Linked DNA regions of Homo sapiens: region 2 is linked to region 1. The links are contacts of gene promoters, found by promoter capture Hi-C in blood cells and fetal thymus (Javierre and others, 2016). All regions are on one chromosome and are shown on one strand. The core of a region is centred on a gene start or on the middle of the fragment in contact, and the rest is flanking DNA. Distances in the headings are between cores, read along the strand shown. Region 1 holds the start of PIK3CG (phosphatidylinositol-4,5-bisphosphate 3-kinase catalytic subunit gamma). Region 2 overlaps DLD (dihydrolipoamide dehydrogenase).

Region 1 (4,799 bases), core at 1,210-3,709:
TGCAGCAGCGCCGTTTCGGGGCTCTTGCATTTGCGCTGGCTGGTGGGCAGCACGAACTCGATGGGGATGAGCTCCATGGAGGACAGGCTGGCCGCAGCACTGCGCGGCTTCATCCTCCGGCGCCTTCGGCAGTTGTCCTCTCTCAGCACCACGGGCTGTTTATAGTTCTCCAGCTCCATGCCCTATGCGACCTGGGAGCGGAGGGACACAGGGATTTGTCACAAGAAAGGCACTTTCCCCTTATATTTTCTGGTGAGATGAGGGAAGAGGAGGTATAGGCGGCGTACATGTGCACAGGGACCCAGAGGGACCAAGTATTTTAAACTGGAAGCACTACAGCCCTTCAGAGCGTGGGCTTTGGAGTCGGGCCGGTGAGTCCTGGCCCAGCCACTTACTTTCTGGGTGATTTGGGCTGCTTAATCTCTGAGCCTGTTTCTCATCTCTCAAACTGGTTAGTAATGAATGCCCCAGAGGGAGAGTTAAATAAAGTAATACTTGTTCAATATGGGTGACAGGTATATGGGGGCTTATTGGTCGTTCTACTTTTGTATACTTTGAAAATTTTAAAGAGGTAGGTAAAACACTCATCCAGCACAGCGCATGACACATTATAATGGCTCAGAATGGACATTGTTCTTAAACATACTGAAACATATAGATTACTAAAATAGTACAGTTAAGGTTCAAGTCCCAGTTTACAAGGTGCAACACGAGATGCCAAAAAATCTCACTTTGAAAACAGGCCTTTAACTTACTTCCTCTTTGTTAAGTCTCACACTTCTTGGAACCCAGACACCTCACCCAGCCTTGCTTCACGTTGCCTGTTTTCAAACTGCCTGGACCTAGGATCTACTCCCTAATAAATTTCCTGCCTCTTGGTTTCATTTTTTCTTTCTAATTAGGAAAGCAAGTCATTTCATTTGTAAAGCTAAAACATATCGGAATTAGTAAAGTTACAGTCAAAACCATTTGCAGATATGTAAAATTTTGAATCATGGAATTTGTCAGCATTCTGGCTGTCACTGCTATATTAGGGCAGTATCTTAGAAGAGTCACCCAAGGCTGTACTCTCCCAATAGGAACATTTAGGTAATTTTAACATTGTTTAATTAATTAATTAAAATTCATTTGATCTGTCTCTACTTAATAATGGAGGAGCTACAGGATGGAAGGCAGGATTTCTGGACTCCAGTGACCTTCTGTTAAGACCCCCAATCATTTAACTTCTTTTTTGCTCTAATATTTTCATTTTTGTAACACAAATTCACAAATTTATTCTCATTAACCTACTCACTCTTTCCACAAAATTCAGTAAGTACCTACCCTTCACAAAGCACTTATGTATAAATAGGACATACTGCAATAGGAAATCCTTCAAATAATAATTGAAATTTGAAAGGTATTAACACTGAAAGATTAGGTATTTTGCTTTCAATGTTTAGTATCACTACATTGTAATACATTATATTCTAAACGAATCAATTATTGAAACAAAAAATTAATGTTTCAGAAAATATCGTTTACTCTCTTAAATAACTAATGTTAGACTTAAAACTACATTATTTCCTTAAGAAATAGTGGAGCATTTGATGTATACCAAAAAGGAGAGCTTGATAAGAAGATAAGAAAGACAAATTTCATTTGATCCAAACTTATGTTCAAATCTTGGCTTAACTTTTAAAACCAATATTCCCTCTCTTAAAATATGAAGTTATACTTAGTAAGTGAAACCAACTGTCCCAAAGAACTGTCTCTTGTGGCTTAAAACATTCATTTTGGTCTTTTGCTACATTATAGAATAACTAACAAAGAAGAGAACTGTAAGATACATTGATATTGACACTAACTTGAAATAAAACATGTCCAAATTTAGGCAGCATATAAATACACAGCAATAACTTCTGCCTCAGTGATACCAAACGATCTTATAAGATGCAGAGGAAAACAGGCTGACTAATACTCACTGGTTTCCTTCATGGTTGAGGCTATGAAGCTTTCCCCTTTTATGAGAAGATGTTGGAAACACTGTAAGTACAGTAATCTTGAAGCATGCACTTGTAGGAATATGAAGCCTGGCTGCCGTGCCCTCCCTTTTCCTCCCAAAACAAAAACAAAAATGTGATGCACCTGCAAAACTATTGCCGGAACGTTGTAGATATCCACAATACAGGTTGGACTAGACAATGAAACACAGACATTCGGTGGTAGTATCATCTCAAGAACCGACAACAGTTTCAGATAATCTAGCCGAGAAGGAAGTGCCACTATTCCGAGTCAGACCCCACAAAGAGCAAAAAATAGAAGGAAGCAATACCTGATAAAGCAGCGGAGGCGATGATGCTGAAGGATCATTTGTTTAATTTTTGAAAACAAAACAAATTCAAACCTACCCAGTGTGCGTCTAAATTCTTCCGCTTTTCTGGGGCTCCCTTCATATCCAGATGCAGAGGAAGTGTTGCAGTTACCAGGAAGGAAGTTTTAACCAAGTTGATTATACGTGTGATTGCTCATTTTAAAAGTGTCAGAAATGCATTTCCTGTTTTAGCATAGAGAGGGTAGGAGTATGAGACTGAGCAATGTTTACCATGGTTTTTCTTTTCTTTTTTTTTTCTCTTTGAACTAATTTTTCAAAAATTGTGATACTGAGACAAAATGACATAAATCCAAACCAAAATTACCCATTATGAGACATAAACATATGAAATATCTTTGTAGCTAGTTCTAAGAGCCACAGTATTAGGTATCCTATTAGGAAGACTTTTACCAGTCAAATTAAACTCATTCCCCTCCTGGGAATTCAAAAGAATCCTTGTTCGCACATGCTAACTGAGGGGTGGGGGAAGAGAAACCTAGTCATCTTGAGGACTAAGTTATCAAGCTGAAAATTTTTAAAGGCATGGTCTGCAAGCTCACTTCCTTAGCTTGGTGAGAGCTTTCTCTATTTTTTCAGAGCATTTGGGGCCTAAAATATCACTGGCTCAAACTGAAAGCACTGCAGCATGTGCATGTGTGTATATAAATGTGACATACTGCAGTAAGTAACCCTTCAAATAATGGTTGAAATGCTAAAAGTATTAAAATTGAAAGATGAATAAAAAGGTATTTTGATTTTAATACTAAGTACCACTACATTGTAACACATTATATTCCAAACAAGGATCAACTATTGAAACAAAAATTAATGCTTCAGAAAATATCCTGTGTTGAGGATGGAGCCTTACTGTCAGCAATGACTGATTAATTAACTGTAGACAAAACAGAAGGAGGTTGCCTGTTATCATGGGGAAATTGGGGAGCTGAACACTGTTACAGCATCAGGCAGATTCCATCCTGGGAGGTGGCCCCTGATTCCTATGGGAGTAGAGAATGCATAGAAAAGCCATCCTGAATCATTTTTAGAGTAGCGTTGTATCTTCCAGGTGACCTCAGTTCTTTCTAGAACCTCCAAGCATCCTGAACCAGCGCCCCCTCCCTCCATCTCAGAATTCCCTATGCTAGAGTTCATCCTCCAATCGGGGTGTTGAGGGACTCCAGCTGAGCTTCAAGGGCAGCAGATAGAATGGAGTTGACCTCACAAGTCTCTTGGAGGTATGTAATTAAGAGTTCCTCTGAATTACTCTGATATTGAGATAAATGATTGATTTGACTTATTTCCTTTTACATATGCCTCTTGGGTTTTAACTTTTAAATAGCACTCTAATAGTTGACATCAGCAGGCAAATAATTTAATTCAAAGGCTGCCTCCCAAATATTTAGAGGGGTCTTATCAGCTTCTCAAAGTATATTCCTATATAGGAATACTCCCTTAGGAGGCTGGCAGCTTTAGAAGCACCAAGGCTAGCTTTCTTGGTTGGTCCTGAGGGAAGATCAACACACTGTAGCCACCAAGCCATGATGTGAGAGCTTGCCAAGCTGTGTTTTACCCAGAGTGTGTGGGAGGGTTCCTGGGGGTGGGTGGAGTGGGAGGAGGTTTGAGGGTGGGAGGGCTGACCTCAGAGGGACCATGAGCTTGGCCAGCCCTGTTCCCCAGACCATTCAATAGATCCCTTCCCTGTCCTGGCTCAGTCACTTCCAGGGGGCCAAGTCCCAATCTGGCACTGCACATACACACACACATGCCACATTATTCCAGAAACACGAGACTCAGCCTCTTGGCCCTGCCTGCTTCTGAAGGAACTATTAAGCTAAGTTTGATTAGGCAAAGGATTTTCTGTTTTATGACTAAACTGGCAAATATGTCAGGTTTATTGGTGGCTTGAGATTAAAAGTACCCTGCTCTTCCCCAAATCTTAATATAGCCACTAAAATTTGACTATCTGTAGTAAATGTTCCCAGTAAGAAGTAATGGCAAAGATTTCCTTCCTCTGTGGATACTTCCTCCGTGTAGAGGCATCCTTTACGAGTAAGAATATTTTATATCCCCAGAATATTTAGAAGACCTTCAGTCCTCATTAATATCCCATTTTAATAATATTTTTCCCTTCTGTGAATCTGTGGACACAGAAATCATTTTGGTTGGGAAAAAAAACACAATCAAAGGCTCTGACCTTCTATATCATATCAGTGGTCACAGCAATGACAAGATAGAACAGTTTAGAAAATAAGAACACAGTAGGAAGTATCAGTGATCAATAGACATTAAAAATTATTTGTTTTGAGGAAGGCTCTTTCCAACAGCCTTCAGAGAGATTATTTATGGTCTACTTGGAGAGACAGAACATGCAGAGGAAAGAATAACATGTGCAATGCGTTAGCATATGCAGTCCAAGCGGTTTAATTGTGTGATGTAACTTTCATTA
Region 2 (4,674 bases), core at 2,090-4,589, 1.0 Mb before region 1:
TTTTGGTATCCAAGGGGGGTCCTGGAACCAATCCTCCAAGGATATGAAGAGATAAATGTATTTATAAACTGTGATCTCAGTAGAATCACTAAAAATACTAAGTCATTTATTTGTTTTGAGGTATCTATATACCTAATTTCATCAAATCCCATTAAAAACACTGACTTTAAATTTTATCCACCAATATTCCAAACGCAATGGTCAATTTTAACTTCATACTGTATTCAAACATATCTTAATATAAAGTGTTCTATAGCTGGTCAGAATCACTGCAGAATAAAGACAGGTAACTTCCCAAAGCTGAATGACCATCAAAATATAGTATTTCAGTCAGAAATCTCTCAAAGTTCACAAATAGCATAAATAACTTATAAAACGTATTTCTAAAGAAAAGTTGTAATGGTTGTAAATTATGAAGCATAAATACCGTGATTCCAGGAAAAGGAGTAACTTCTGAACCCGTGGCTATAAGAATGTTCTTTGTATCAATAACCTGAGTGCCGCCATCAGCTTTCGTAGCAGTGACTTGATTTTTGCCAGTTATCTTTCCATATCCATTGACATGAACAACCTTTACAAAATAATCTTTATAAATTCACAAAGTTTAAAGTAATTTGTTTGATAAATCATTCAAAGGAAAAATTACTCTGTAAATAATTTATCTAAAACAAAATGCTTCCTTACTTAGTAATGCTACACCATGGTGCAGCAAAAAAATCTGTGATATATGTCAGGGAAATCTATTTCAGGTTAGCAAGCTATTTTAAATTAAATAAATATTCCCCTGTAACCAAGTTCAAATATCATCACTCTATAATGCAAAGTTTAATTTGTATTCAAAGTAAAGCAGAAATCTGAATATTAAACACTGACCTTATTCTGTTTGAATAAGTGGGCAATTCCACCTGTTAAAGCTTTTACTGCAGTACTCTTCTGCTCCATCATCTTGTCTAAATTCAAGCGAACTTCGGACACTGTAATTTGTTCAATTAATCTTTAGTTCTTAGCTAAATTCTTGAAGCAATATGCAGTGTTTTTCACTCACCAACTGGAAAATTTCAACCTAATGCTTATAAAAGGCAGTATTAAAGTTTCAAAATGTAATAACTTATAATTATAGTTGACAAAAGGCCAACATCATTGTATCACAGAAACAGAACCTATCAAACACTATAAAATGTCTACCTTGGGTAAAAAGGCAGTCCAAAATAAAACATTATATCCCACTGTGATAACATATCCTCTGAACACTTTACGATGGTTATAAGTCTGGAAGATATGTAAGTAGAAATGACAAAGTAAAACATCATCTGAAATTTTAAATAAAGGAAAATGCTAGATTTCATGAAACAAAACAAATAAAAAATACACGTTTAAAAATTTCAAATACAGAAGCTTAACATTAAAAAGTTTAATCACCTAGGTTTTAATCACTCATTCAACTCAGAAGAGAACTCTGAAGCAACAGTATTAGATAAAAATGCTCAACTCAATTAAACTTTAGAGGTAAGAAGGGTATCTTAGAAAGTACCTCATATAACCAACACATATATTAGAGATAAGGAAAAAGAGACTCTGAGAGATTTCTGATTTACCCAAGGTCACAGAGCTAGGATGTAAAAGCCTTGCCTACAATGCAGGTCTCCTGACTACCCCTAGCTCTTCTTTCTTTACGTCATTCCATTTTTCAACTAGTATGATATTCTATTTGCTTTAGTGCATATACATCATCTCTATACCCAATGGATTGCCTTAAGTAGCCCCTCAAACCTACCTCTGTAAAGAAACAAATGAAGGAAAAGTAACAACCCAAGGTTATGACTAGGTCCTGCCCAGAAGAGACTACCTTTCTGGAAGTATCTAACAACAACAATAATTGGAGACAAAAGATTAAAACAGCTCAAAAAGTATGTCAGGAGACAAGATACGTTATGAAATGTCCTCTTCCTTTTCCGCTATGCCTCACTCTTTCTCTCCTCTAATTTTTCTACTATCAACAGCTTAAGTGGGCCTTCCTTCCTTCCTCTATCTCCCCATAGTACTCAGGAATCCAGCCTTCTCAGTGATTTCCAGATTTTAGGAAATGAAAACTGACTCTTCAAAAACACATAAAGGCAAACCTCAGGAAAAAGTTGGCAAAGGAACAGAAGATATAATGGTAGAAATCTGGATTTGCAGGGTTAGGCTTGGTTATACTTGGCTGGGAGAAATCTGGATTTAGGCCTTCTTTTTTAAGTAAATCTCTCCACATTTTTTAGATTATTTATTTTACTCTTCCTTCACTAAACATCTATTATGCGTACGTTAGACACATTTAAGTCTTTAGACAGAAGAGCCAAGTCAAGCAGTCTGGTAATATCATTAAGCATGAAAAGTATACTTACTTTCAATTCCTCTAGATGCAAAATCTTTTCCATGGGCCATATGGTAATAATGAGAGTTGTTCAATAAAGCCTAAAGGAAATTAAAAAGATCAAATTATCAAATATTCATAAACAGACTTCAAATAATCAAAAAGCACTTATGAAATGATAGTCTTTCTTTTCATTTTTTGAGACGGAGTTTCGTTCTTATTGCCCAAGCTGGAGTGCAATGGCGCCATCTCAGCTCACCGCAACCTCCGCCTCCCGGGCTCAAGCAATTGTCCCTGGGATTACAGGCATGCATCACCACGCCTGGCTAATTTTGTATTTTTAGTAGAGATGGGGTTTCTCCATGTTGGTCAGGCTGGTCCCAAACTCCCAGCCTCAGGTGATCCACCCGCCTCGGCCTCCCAAAGTGCTGGGATTACAGACGTGAGCCACCGCGCCCGGCCGATATTCTCTTTCAAATGTTCTCATCACAAAAATGATAAGTACTGTGGTAATGAATATGTTAATTAACTTGACTAAATTATTCCACATTATAGTCATAAATCATAACACCACTTTGTATGCCATAAATATATACAATTGTAATTTGTCAATTTACAATAAAAATTTAAAAAGAAGTTAAAAAAAAGACATGGCATTCTCTACATGGAATAGTATATGGCACTACACCAATTCAGTTTCTCTTATTAATCAAAGACAAACAATAATGATGTGAAAAACATTCAACAAACAAGAATGAAAAAGACATTTTTACTTTCTTTAAAAGTAAAGGCATAAGTACACACTTCAGGGTGGCAGGTGAAAAAGGCAGTCATGTTTACATACAAAAAGGACCTAAAAGAACAATTTACTATCTATTATCTGTTACACTGGTGAAGGAAAGATAAAGAGAAAAAACTAGAACATCAGAGTCTGTTTGAATGGAAAGCTAGGCATTCTGAGACAAGGAAGTTATTTCAGGAATGTGTGGCAGACTAGTGACAGCACTCTTTAAGTTTTACAAAAGAGAAGTGTGTTTTTTATCATTCTTTTTTTTCTCTGTGTGAAATGTGCCACAACTTGGATTGTTTTTTAACAAGTGTATTTGTCTAATCTAGTCTCAATCCATCCTTCTAGTTGGTTGCTAGCCAAAAACAATCTCTGTGCTGTACAAAACACATGCTCACCTTAGAAGGAATACAACCAACATTCAAGCATGTTCCACCAAGTGTTTCATTTTTCTCAATGCAGACTGTCTACAACCAAAGAAAACATTATTTAACTGCACATAACCTCAATGTTTCAGATCACTAAAATTCCAAATATATGTCTTAATTCTTCTACAAAACAAGCTATTCGGGCTATGTTTTCACAGACTAAAATATATAGTCCTTTATAATTTATCATTTGAATAATAATAAACACTTTTGGGCTGACCCAAAAGTGAATTATTCTAAAAGATATTTTTGTGTGCTTAACATTACCAAATATATGCTTTTAGTTCTATCACTGTATCTTCCAAAGTGTGATTAGATGCCAAAATGAAAAGTACTGGGAAGAGAAGAAAACTAATAGATTTCACTTTCCATTCCAAGAGAATACTACAACCAAATGAACCTAATCTTTATTAGTCTCAGGCTTACAAGTAATTTATAGAGTTAAGGAAGTATTTACCATGTTTTTGCCTGCAAAGTACTTTATAAATATGATCAACCCTTCCCAAATTAAAATAAATCAATACTTAGTTTGAGTTCAAACCTTACCTTGAAGCCTAACTGGGCAGCTTTAATAGCAGCAACATATCCTCCAGGACCAGAACCTATAACTGTTACATCAGCATCAACTACGATAAAAGCAAATTGATATAAAATAGTAAATTGCTTAATATTTACCAAAAAGAGCTCTTTGGAAGAGCAAACAAATAACCCGATACTTAAACCTCTTACAGTACAAATCAGCATTTTCTACATAGTTTCTGCACTATTTTATTACTACTACTTGATGCTCTTTGATGCTACTGAAAAATGGCATAAATACTCAAATTTCATTTTCTATTATTTTCTATTCATTACAACATACAGAAACACAACTGAGTTCTGTAACACTCACATTGTATTCACTGACCTTCCTAAATTCTATTGATTTAATAACTGACGGAATTTAGTGATACTGGAAGACAAGTATGTATGAAGCAAAGAGCCTGAGCTTTGGAATCTGACATTCTGGGCTTCATATCTCAGCACGGCCAATGAGTAGTTGTATGAACTTGACCCAATGACTTAACCTTTCTGTAATATGGGGATGAAAACACTGCCTTCAATGA

Evidence for each region. Contacts are between HindIII fragments. The CHiCAGO score rates a contact against its expected background, and 5 or more counts as called.
Region 2: a contact is called between a fragment that was not itself captured here and the fragment with the promoter of PIK3CG in region 1, in 1 of 17 cell types (naive CD4 T cells). The highest score is 5.0, in naive CD4 T cells.

Annotation. Positions count from the first base shown.
Region 1 is chr7:106,862,942-106,867,740 of GRCh38, reverse strand. PIK3CG (phosphatidylinositol-4,5-bisphosphate 3-kinase catalytic subunit gamma) reads right to left here and starts at 2,459. Exons shown (of 11, transcript NM_001282426.2): 1 at 2,315-2,459; 2 at 1-191. The coding sequence starts at 179. RefSeq lists an enhancer at 2,288-2,387. The HindIII fragment of the contact is 4,956 bases long and covers 1,996-4,799 here.
Region 2 is chr7:107,901,258-107,905,931 of GRCh38, reverse strand. It overlaps DLD (dihydrolipoamide dehydrogenase), which reads right to left. Exons shown (of 14, transcript NM_000108.5): 3 at 4,115-4,194; 4 at 3,539-3,607; 5 at 2,385-2,454; 6 at 874-974; 7 at 428-571. Among named protein-coding and RNA genes, the nearest start is that of DLD, 12 kb to the right of the region's middle. The HindIII fragment of the contact is 3,883 bases long and covers 1,398-4,674 here.